2 separate regions of the Homo sapiens genome follow, and region 2 is linked to region 1. The links are contacts of gene promoters, found by promoter capture Hi-C in blood cells and fetal thymus (Javierre and others, 2016). All regions are on one chromosome and are shown on one strand. The core of a region is centred on a gene start or on the middle of the fragment in contact, and the rest is flanking DNA. Distances in the headings are between cores, read along the strand shown.

Region 1 (4,232 bases), core at 1-2,500:
GGAAGAAGTAGCGCTGGTACAGCCGCTCCAGTTTGTCCGACGGGAACTTCTTGGAGCGGAATATCTGCAGCAACGCCAGGCAGCAGGCGCCCAGGGACAGCACCGCGCCGGGCCCCGCGCCCGAGCCCGAGTCCGCCGAGCTGCCGCCATCCCCGGACCCCTCGCCGCCCTCGACGGCGCCGGCCTCCAGCTCGTCGGCCGCGCGCCCCTTGCCCCGCCGCTCCTCCAGACCCACCTCCACCGAGCGAGGGCGCACCTCCGTCCCGCCCGCCGAGGCAGCCGCCGCCGCCGAGCCGCCGCCGCCGCCCGCAGGGGGCGCCCGGGTGCTGCCCCCGCTGGCCGCGCCCCGCCGCTGCCGGCGGCTGCCGCGACCGCAGTCGTCGCCGCCGCGCTCCTGCCAGGCGGACTTGGAGCGGAAGCTGAAGCCGAAGCCCCCGGCCAGGGGGTCGTCACCGCTCAGCGGAGGATCGTCGTCGTCGTCGCTGCGCCAGCGGCTGGCCAGGCGCTGCTGCTGCTGCGGGGTCACCGCCCCCCCGGGTTTCTTGGTGGAGCCGCGGGCAGAGCCCCCGGGGGCATGGGGGTAGCCATTCGCGCGGGAATCGGCCTCGCCCCACGCAGAGCGGTGTTCGGGGCCTCCCCGGGGCGCCGGCGCCGCAGTCTTCTGCGCCGCGTAGCCCGGGGGGCTCACGCTTTTGGAGCCGGACATCCCCCCCTCGGCCTCGTCGTCTCCTTCCTCCTCCCCCGGAAGCCGGGCCGGGGGTCTCCAAGGGGAGGGCGGACGGCCGAGCAGGGGGACCAGGCTAGGGTCACACGTCGGGGGCGGCCCGGGGCCCTGCGCTGCAGCGGGGCATCTTGGCACCCCCGTCCTGAGCGGAGGAGGAGGGCACAGCCCCGAGGTGAGAAGTAGCTGAGGATCCGCGTCAGAAGTCCCAGGTCCGAAATGGAGTTGCCTCCGAGGTGGGGTCGCAGGGACTGGTCTGGCTGCTGCTGCGCCGCACGCGGAGAGACGTCCGGGATCCTGGCTCGCGTCGAGCTCGACGAGGGCCGGAGTTGCGGACGAGACGGGACGGAGTGGTGTCCTTGCGGGCGGTGCCTCCTCGGGCCGGCAGTGCCCGGGCGCGGCGCTCGCTGATTCCGCCTAAGCGGAGCCCAGCTGCTCTCGGGGCTCGGCGGCGGCGAGGGCGGCTCGGCGGGGGTCCCGGCGAAGAGACACTGCGGGTGCGCTTTCCTCGCAGCGGACTGGGAGCGACTGGGAGGTGCGGGCGCCAGCCAGCATTATTTTCTTACGAGGGGTGGGGAGGTGGGATGGGAGGTGGAGAGGACGGGGGAGGGGGCGACGGGCGGAGCAACAGCTCCGGAGCCCCGGGGGGGAGGGTCCTGGAGCCCGGGGGGGCCGTTGCCCGCATCCCCCACCTCTCGCGGCGAGAGTGGATGCGTGGCCCCGGCGAAAGCCGAGCCGAGCCTTCGGCGCGTCCGCGCAGGGGGCGGGGTCCGGGTCAGGGACCGGCTCCTGCGGTGCGGCCCTTCCCCTCTCGCCTCTCCCTTTCCCGCAAACGGAGCGGGGCCGGCCGGGACCTGCCGGCCCGGAGAGCTGTCGCGCCCGCTTCGCAAGCCCCAAGCTCCTCGTCGCCGGCTGCGGGCCCACCGCGGCCGGCGCGGAACGACTAGGCGGAGGACGGAATCCGGCGCAGCGCTGCCGCGGTTCTGCCCCGACGCAGGCAGGCTTCTCCCGGGGAGTAAGGCATCCAGAGATCCAGCGCCGGGGCTCAGAAGCAGCCGGCCCAGAGGGGCCCGCCTGAGAGCCGCGGCGCCCGAGAGGCGCTCCGGGGGGGCCCGCGGGAGCCCGGCTCAGGGCGCGCCATGCACGCTTCGGGCCCTGCGCCGCTCCGGCCGCTCGCGCCGCTCCTCCCTTCTCGCCCGCTCGCCGCCGCCGGAGAGCCCTCCGCATCCCCTCCTCCCGCTGCCTCCCCGCCCCCCGCGCCGCCCGGGCCTCGGCTCACAGCCGCGCGAGGCCGCCTCCGCCCCCGGCCTGGCCATGGCCCCAGCCTCGGCGCCCCGCGGGCATCCTCAGGCCTGGCCGCGGGCACCCCAGTTCCCCTTCCTCACCTAAAATTCTCGCTGCGCCCCTCCCTCCCTGGGACTAGGAGCCGCATCCAGCCTGCGGTCCCGTCACCAGACCTGGGTGGAGCGCGGTCTTCCCCCGCCCCCGGCCAGGGCTCCAGCGCCCCCAGTCCTAGCTCCCCTCTTTTGTATCCCCCTTTAATCCCCCTCCCCCCATTTAACCCAACTTCAGCCCCGGCGCTGCGCCCCCCTTCCCTGGCCCGGCTCGATTGGCCGCTTCCGGAGCTGTCAGACTACAGTCCGGCGCTCTTATTGGGCGATTCTCTGGCCCGGCGGCTGTGCCAAAGGAGGGCGCACCGGGTGGGGGGCGCCTGGGCAGCGAGTGCCTCAAGGAGAAGGAGAACAGAGTCCCTGGAGGGGTCTCAGGGGCCGGAGAGCCAGACCCGGAAATGGACAGGGGAGATGCAGAAACAGGACTTCTGAGACGCAGGAAGACAGTGATGGAAAAGATGGTGATGCAGTGGGTGAGGCCGATGCAGCCGGGGCGGGGCGGACAGGGAGGCTTTGGTGGGTAGTTACCAGGAGAAAGCCCCACAGTGAACACTGGAAACACCTGGCTTTTATAAAGCGCTCTTTGCCTGTTCGTAAAGTCTCATAAATCTCACTTGGTTCCCGTCAGTAATCCTAGGATGAGACAGAGGACAGAGACCGTGTAGCTATTCCCAGCTTATAGATGCAGAAACTGAGGCTCTGGGAGCTTATTCAACTTGCTATAGGTCACACAGGTCTACTAACTTGGCACCCAAAGGTCCTTCGTCAGCGCCAGACTGCCTCCCTAACCTAACAAGGTGTTAGCAGGAAGGATGGGCACCTGAGCAAGCTGGCGTGCCCACTTGGGGGGAAGCAGGGGAAGGGGAAAATGGCTAGATACACAGCACCAGCCACAAGAGGCAGGAATGGAGAGAAGGATTCGACTGCTAGGCAAAAAGGACGTAGGCCTGTAGAATGATGTGTCTACCCAATTCCCTTTGCCCCCAAGCTGTCCTGCTGGAGTTCTGACAGTCTAAACCCTGGAGAGGTGGGAGACCACACTCCTACCCAGCCTGGGGGTAAACAGCTTTTACTTTCCCCTTCTTCATCCTCCAACTCTCTCCCCAGAGCTTCTGACAGGGAGCCTAGAGGTCTAAGTGAGCTTCCTTCTTTGTCTCTCTCTGCTGGTCATCTCTGCAGACTGGAAGATAAACCTTGCCAGAGTTACAAATTGGGAGGAGAAAAATTCCAAGAGGTCAGAATAAACTAACCCTTGGGTAATCCAGCCTTTGAGTATTCCACTATTAGCCAAGTTGTAAAAAAAAACATGAATTTAGTCAATAAAAATTCTAGAGAACCCTCAATGTACAAAGCATTGTGCTAGTTGCTACCAGGATAGAGAGATGACCAAACTCTAGACCGGGAACAAGTCGAACAAGTCAGTGACGGAGAAGAGCTAGCCACTATCTCTAGGTCAGAGCAAAGTTCTGGGTTCAATAGAAGTGCAAACAGCACCTCGGGCATTCAGAGAGAGGGGGTGTCACTTCCCACTGTGAGGGCCAAACAAGGGCCTGGAAGTCAAACCTGGGTCTAGCAGGGAAGGATGTCTAAGAAAGGGAGGATGGACTAATTAATATTTACTAAGCAACTGTTGTATGTCTGTAAACATTTTATTGTCAGATAACTATTCTGAGGAAGGTTATCCCCACTATAAAGATGAGAAAACAGACTTAGGGAATCAAAAAGTTTGTCCAGCCAGGCATGGTGGCTCATGCCTGTAACCCCAGCACTTTGGGAGGCTGAGGCAGGCAGATCATCTGAGGTCTGGCGCTCATGACCAGCCTGGCCAACATGGTGAAACCCGTCTCTACTAAAAATACAAAAATTAGCCGGGCGTGGCGGTGTGAGCCTGTAATCCTACTCTGGAGGCTGAGGCAGGAGAATCACTTGAATCCGGGAGGTGGAGGTTGCAGTGAGCCGAGATCATGCCATTGCACTCCAGCCTGGTTGACAGAATGAGACTCTGTCTCAAAAAAAAAATAAAAAATAAAAAGGCCGGGCATGGTGGCTCACGACTCTAATCCTAGCACTTTGGGAGGCCAAGGCAGGCGGATCACGAGGTCAAGAGATCGAAACCATCC
Region 2 (4,529 bases), core at 1,798-4,297, 120 kb before region 1:
CATGCCACGGGGTGGTGGGGAGAGCTTGGGGCCAGAAGCAGGTGCCCTACTCCTAGTCCAAAGTTGGGGCAAACCGCACTTGTATTTGCTTGTGTGGCTCCCCAGATTCCCTTGGGCAACACGAGGCATCTGGTGCGGGCCTCATGCCCACAGAAGGCCCTAGCCTTGGAGAGTGTTGCCCACAGGCTGCCCCACCAGCCACTCACCATCCGCTTCATCTCCTTGGACACCTGGTTGCCACCCAGGTGGTTGTAGAAGGGGCGCTCAGCCCCCCAGTGTGGTGGGTTGTGCCCGATGGAGTTGGTTCTCTGGCGGTTCATCTTGGCGATCATGGCCTTCTCTTCTTTCTGGAAGACGAACACAGAGATGGGGGGAGATGAGGAGTCCAAGCGGAGGGCTCCTCACCCTTCCCCAAACATCGTACCTGGCCAGGTAAGGGGCTAAGGCAGCTGCCCTTTCCTCTCTGCACAGCCCTGGAGCCAGAGCTCGGCCCAGATCCTGGAACTCCCCAGGCAAGCATCCTGGATCTCTCCAAACTCCCTAATGCCAGCCCTGGCTGGCTCAGGTGGGAGTGGCAAAAGATGATGAGAGTTGGTCTTGTGAGAAAGCAAAGAGCTTGGGAACATCTGCCATTTGCAAGGAGTTCTCCCTGTAAGTTCGACTGTAAGATTCTATCCTGGGTGCCCTTCTCTCCTCTGGATGGCCTAGGCTCCGAAAGGCCTGAGCTGACGCACCCAGCTGCCCGCACTGTGCTTCCTCCCCCTACTCTGTGGGGCAGGGTGATCAGCGAGGGCTGAGCTTGGGTCTCCCAGGCAGCCAGGCCAACTCATACCTAAGCCTCCCAACTTGGTCCCTGGCAGGCTGTGGTGTCACATCAGGCTTTGCTCATGGGCAGGCCAGGGTAGGGCTCTAGCTACAGCCTCAAGGGTGGGTGGGGCCTGATCTGAAGTTGCCCAGGGGGTACCGGAGGGAGAGGAGACCTGGGATCACAACCTCTGCTCAACTTCTCCAAAATATGCTACAACAGAGAGGGCACTAGGACACGGCCCGGGGCCCAAGAGGCCACTTCCAAAGAGGTTTGGGTCAGTGAAGTTATGAGATTCAAGAGCTGACAGGCATTGTACAAATACACAGAGTCTCAGTCAGCTATCTATGGGCCAACACACTCCCCAGGATCTCATCTATCTGTCTGTCTGTCTATCCATCCAAATGGGTGCAAGAGAGCTAGAGACCTGAGGCAACCCTCCCCTCAACTCCCTCCCTTGTCAGATGAGGTGACGGTGGGGACACAGCCTGCTTCAGCTGACATTGCTGGTGGGGGTGCCTGTTACTCTTTCTGTCTCCATTTCATCCTTTTTGGACCGCTTGTCCAGCTAAAAGAACCAAGAGCCAGGGAACTCAGGGTCTAGGGCAGGAAGCTGCGGGAGGCCTTGTGACCCAGGCACTGAGAGATGTGGGTAAAGAGCCTGGAGGACCCAGTTCATTGATACTATGGCCAAGGAACTGGCCAACGCTTACAAACGTGTCAAGGAAACCATGAGGAGCTGTCCCCACAGGGCCCTGAATCCCCCATCCCTCTTCCTGGTGCCTGTGGAGGGTCTGACACAGCTCCCATGAAGGGCCCCCGAGCCAGGATCTGTCCCCTGGGGTACTGCATGGTAGGATAAGGTGTCCCTCTGATGTCCCTCTTGGCACGGGCACCTGCCCTCAACAGCCCTGCCTGCCTCCCTTTAAAAATCACCTTTGCTGTCATCCAAGACTCTCTGAACTCTTCTCACAGACTAATTTTGTCTTTCGTTTCACTTCTTAGGAAGAGAAATGGGGAAGCTTTTCTCTATCAAAGGGCACTGACTGGCAGATAAATTCCACAGAAAGACTCATAAGTAAAAGGCATTTTAGTTTAGGGAGAAATAGAAAATGTTCTCTTGATTTGCTTTAAAAATTAAGAGCATGGAACATGACACTATTAAAAATAGAACACTGAAGTCTGCTAATAATTTAGCTTTATATTTCAGCAAGTGTGGGCTGAGACAAAGGGGGAAAAAGAAACAGACTAGAAAGGGAAAGGGGAAAATAGGTTCAAGAAACAAAGACATAGGCACATGTGGAGATGGACACCGATCTATGGATCAGAGAGAGAGAGATTAGGGCAAGTGTCCACCCCAGTAAAAGGCAAATGAAAAGGAGAGAGATGGAGATAAAATATACGGTATCCACAGACTCCCTTGATGCTGATTTCCAGCTTGTGGACTTCTGATGTCTTGTTGCTAACTGATTTGAGGCCTGTTGCATTTTTGCAAAAGAAGCACTATTAAAAGATTCCCTCTTTACCATCCTTTTTGCAAGGCCTAACTGCCGGGGTCCTTTTTAAGATGCAGGAACCGCAACTGCATAAGAAATTCATGACTTCACTCAAGGAAAGAGAAGGAAGCAGCAGGTCACGAAAATGTTCCTCCCTGGAGGAAGGGAGCCCCTCAGCCCCCCGGCCCCCAGCCCACAGACCCGCTTCTGGGTGCAGCGCAGGATGAGGAAGGTCTCGATACTGTGCTCCTTGAGGTAGGCGTTGCGCTCGCCCCCACAGCCTGGCTCCACCTCGTAGTCCCCATTCAGGTAGTTGAGTGTAGCCTTGGTGATGTGGATGCGTCTACAGGGGGGCAGGGATCAGGGTGGAGAGGGCAGAAAACTCAAAGTCATAATGTCAGCCCCCGTGAAAAACCAAACTGCAATTAGTGGGTTCACCACAATTCAAACCCTAGGGCCCCAAGCTCTGCTCAAATCCTAACCTCAACCTTGCATGGTACCCTCCATTACTATCAAGTGGGCTCTCATGCCCACTGCAACCACACTGTCTCACACTGAACATCCTGGCACAGACCACTACATTAGCTTGCCCAAGACAACATGGCCTCCAGTCTTGCAAACTTTGCAAGCCTCTCACTCCTGCTCAGAAGCCAGCAATGGCTCCTGCACGCGACAGGACGGAGTCCAAATTCACGAGCCTGGCACTCATGCCTTCTGAACACAGGCGCTGTTTCTCCTAGCCGTCCCTAAAAGGCCATCGGCTCTTCTCCCATTCCTTGGAAATGCTGTGTCCCCCACACCTGTGCCTTGCCTCGCTGTGTTCCCTCCGCCTAGCAGCAGGCTCTTCCCACCCCACCTTCCTCACCCCTCCCAGTCCTGCCTCCTTTATGGTCTAGCCATCCCAGAAACTATCTGTGATTCCTCCCTCCTCCAGAACTCTGTCTATCACACCTCACCAGCCACCATGGTTTGGGTCAATATCTTCTGGGTCAAGGCTCAGGGAAGGGTGACATAATGCTCCCACAACTGGCCAACGGTGGCACAGGTGATTTGGCAAGTAGAGGAATTTCTACTTCCACTGTGCTCACCCCAGCGCCCCCACAGGTGCTTGCTGCCCATCCTGCCCACCCCACCCTGCCCCGCCTCGCCTCTGCAGGATGGTCACCCTGGGTGGGCTTGAGTGGGAACCCAGGTCGGGGCCCCAAGCCACCCACAGCTGTCACTCACCCTGCCTTGCCGCCAGCCTCCATGTGGTTGGCTAGCGTGACATCGTTAGACCAGACGTCGAACTGCCACTTCCTGAGACCAAGGACACCGCAGTGTACTCGCCCGCTGTGAATTCCCACACGCATGTTCACGTTCACCCCTGTCACCTCCCGGACCAACCTGGGGATGGAGCAGGAGTAAAGCTGGGAGAAGGCTGGAGGCCAGGCACACAGAATGGGGGTGAGGCTGCAGGTGCAGGGAAGGTGAAGGTGCGGGGGTCAAAGAGTCTTCTCTCTCCCATCCAGCCCTAGAGTCCAAGAACGTTCAGCCTGAAGGGCACTGGGGCGGGCGGCAGGTGCAGTCGGCTGTGAAAGGGGCTGTTCCCGGCCTGGCCACAAGGTGGCGCGGTGCCACACTAAAACCTAGAGCCCTGCTGCTTCCCCTCCAGGAGGGCACCTCTGGCCAGCACTGCCCTGTCAATTAAATTGTGATTGGAAAAATGCAAATGCACGTTAGGGCCGACTTGAATTAAACAGGGAAGTTACCACCACTCCAAACCCTATTTGTATAATGCTCTTGTGGGTAAGACAGAAATGGCTTTTGGATTATCTTTTTATTGGATTTATCCACACTGCTGCTTCCAAGATGTTAGCAGGGTGATGGCAAAAGCTGGTTACCCAGGTTTCAAGGGTATGGCCTGCTCAGGAGGGAAGGGGAGCCTGGGCAGGTGCAGGGGCTTAGGGTGCTCCATGCCCTAGAGGAAAGCTTGGTCCCGGCCACATGCACCACATATCCATATCTGGGAGCTCCCAGTAGACAGGGCAGGCCCTCCGTATGCACTTATAACTCCTCATGCTGGGCGAGCAGTGGAGGCAGACTGGGAAGGAAGCCATACATCTCCAGGTGCATGTCTGAGGCCCATGGGAACCTGCCCAGCATCTGCAGGAGAGGGTGCAGGTGCCAGGAAGTAGGGTAATGGATGAACTCAGATTGCACTTTCTAGGGCCCTAGACCCTCCCTAA

Evidence for each region. Contacts are between HindIII fragments. The CHiCAGO score rates a contact against its expected background, and 5 or more counts as called.
Region 2: a fragment that was not itself captured here is called in contact with the fragment with the promoter of ADCY5 in region 1 in 1 of 17 cell types (megakaryocytes); the score reaches 5.7 in megakaryocytes.

The regions. Positions count from the first base shown.
Region 1 is chr3:123,447,840-123,452,071 of GRCh38, forward strand. ADCY5 (adenylate cyclase 5) reads right to left here and starts at 1,251. Exons shown (of 21, transcript NM_183357.3): 1 at 1-1,251. The coding sequence starts at 706. RefSeq lists an enhancer at 1-312. The HindIII fragment of the contact is 9,434 bases long and covers 1-4,232 here.
Region 2 is chr3:123,325,116-123,329,644 of GRCh38, forward strand. ADCY5 (adenylate cyclase 5) reads right to left here. Exons shown (of 21, transcript NM_183357.3): 6 at 3,529-3,687; 7 at 2,503-2,644; 8 at 207-347. Among named protein-coding and RNA genes, the nearest start is that of ADCY5, 120 kb to the right of the region's middle. RefSeq lists enhancers at 3,233-3,734, 3,735-4,234. The HindIII fragment of the contact is 2,445 bases long and covers 1,826-4,270 here.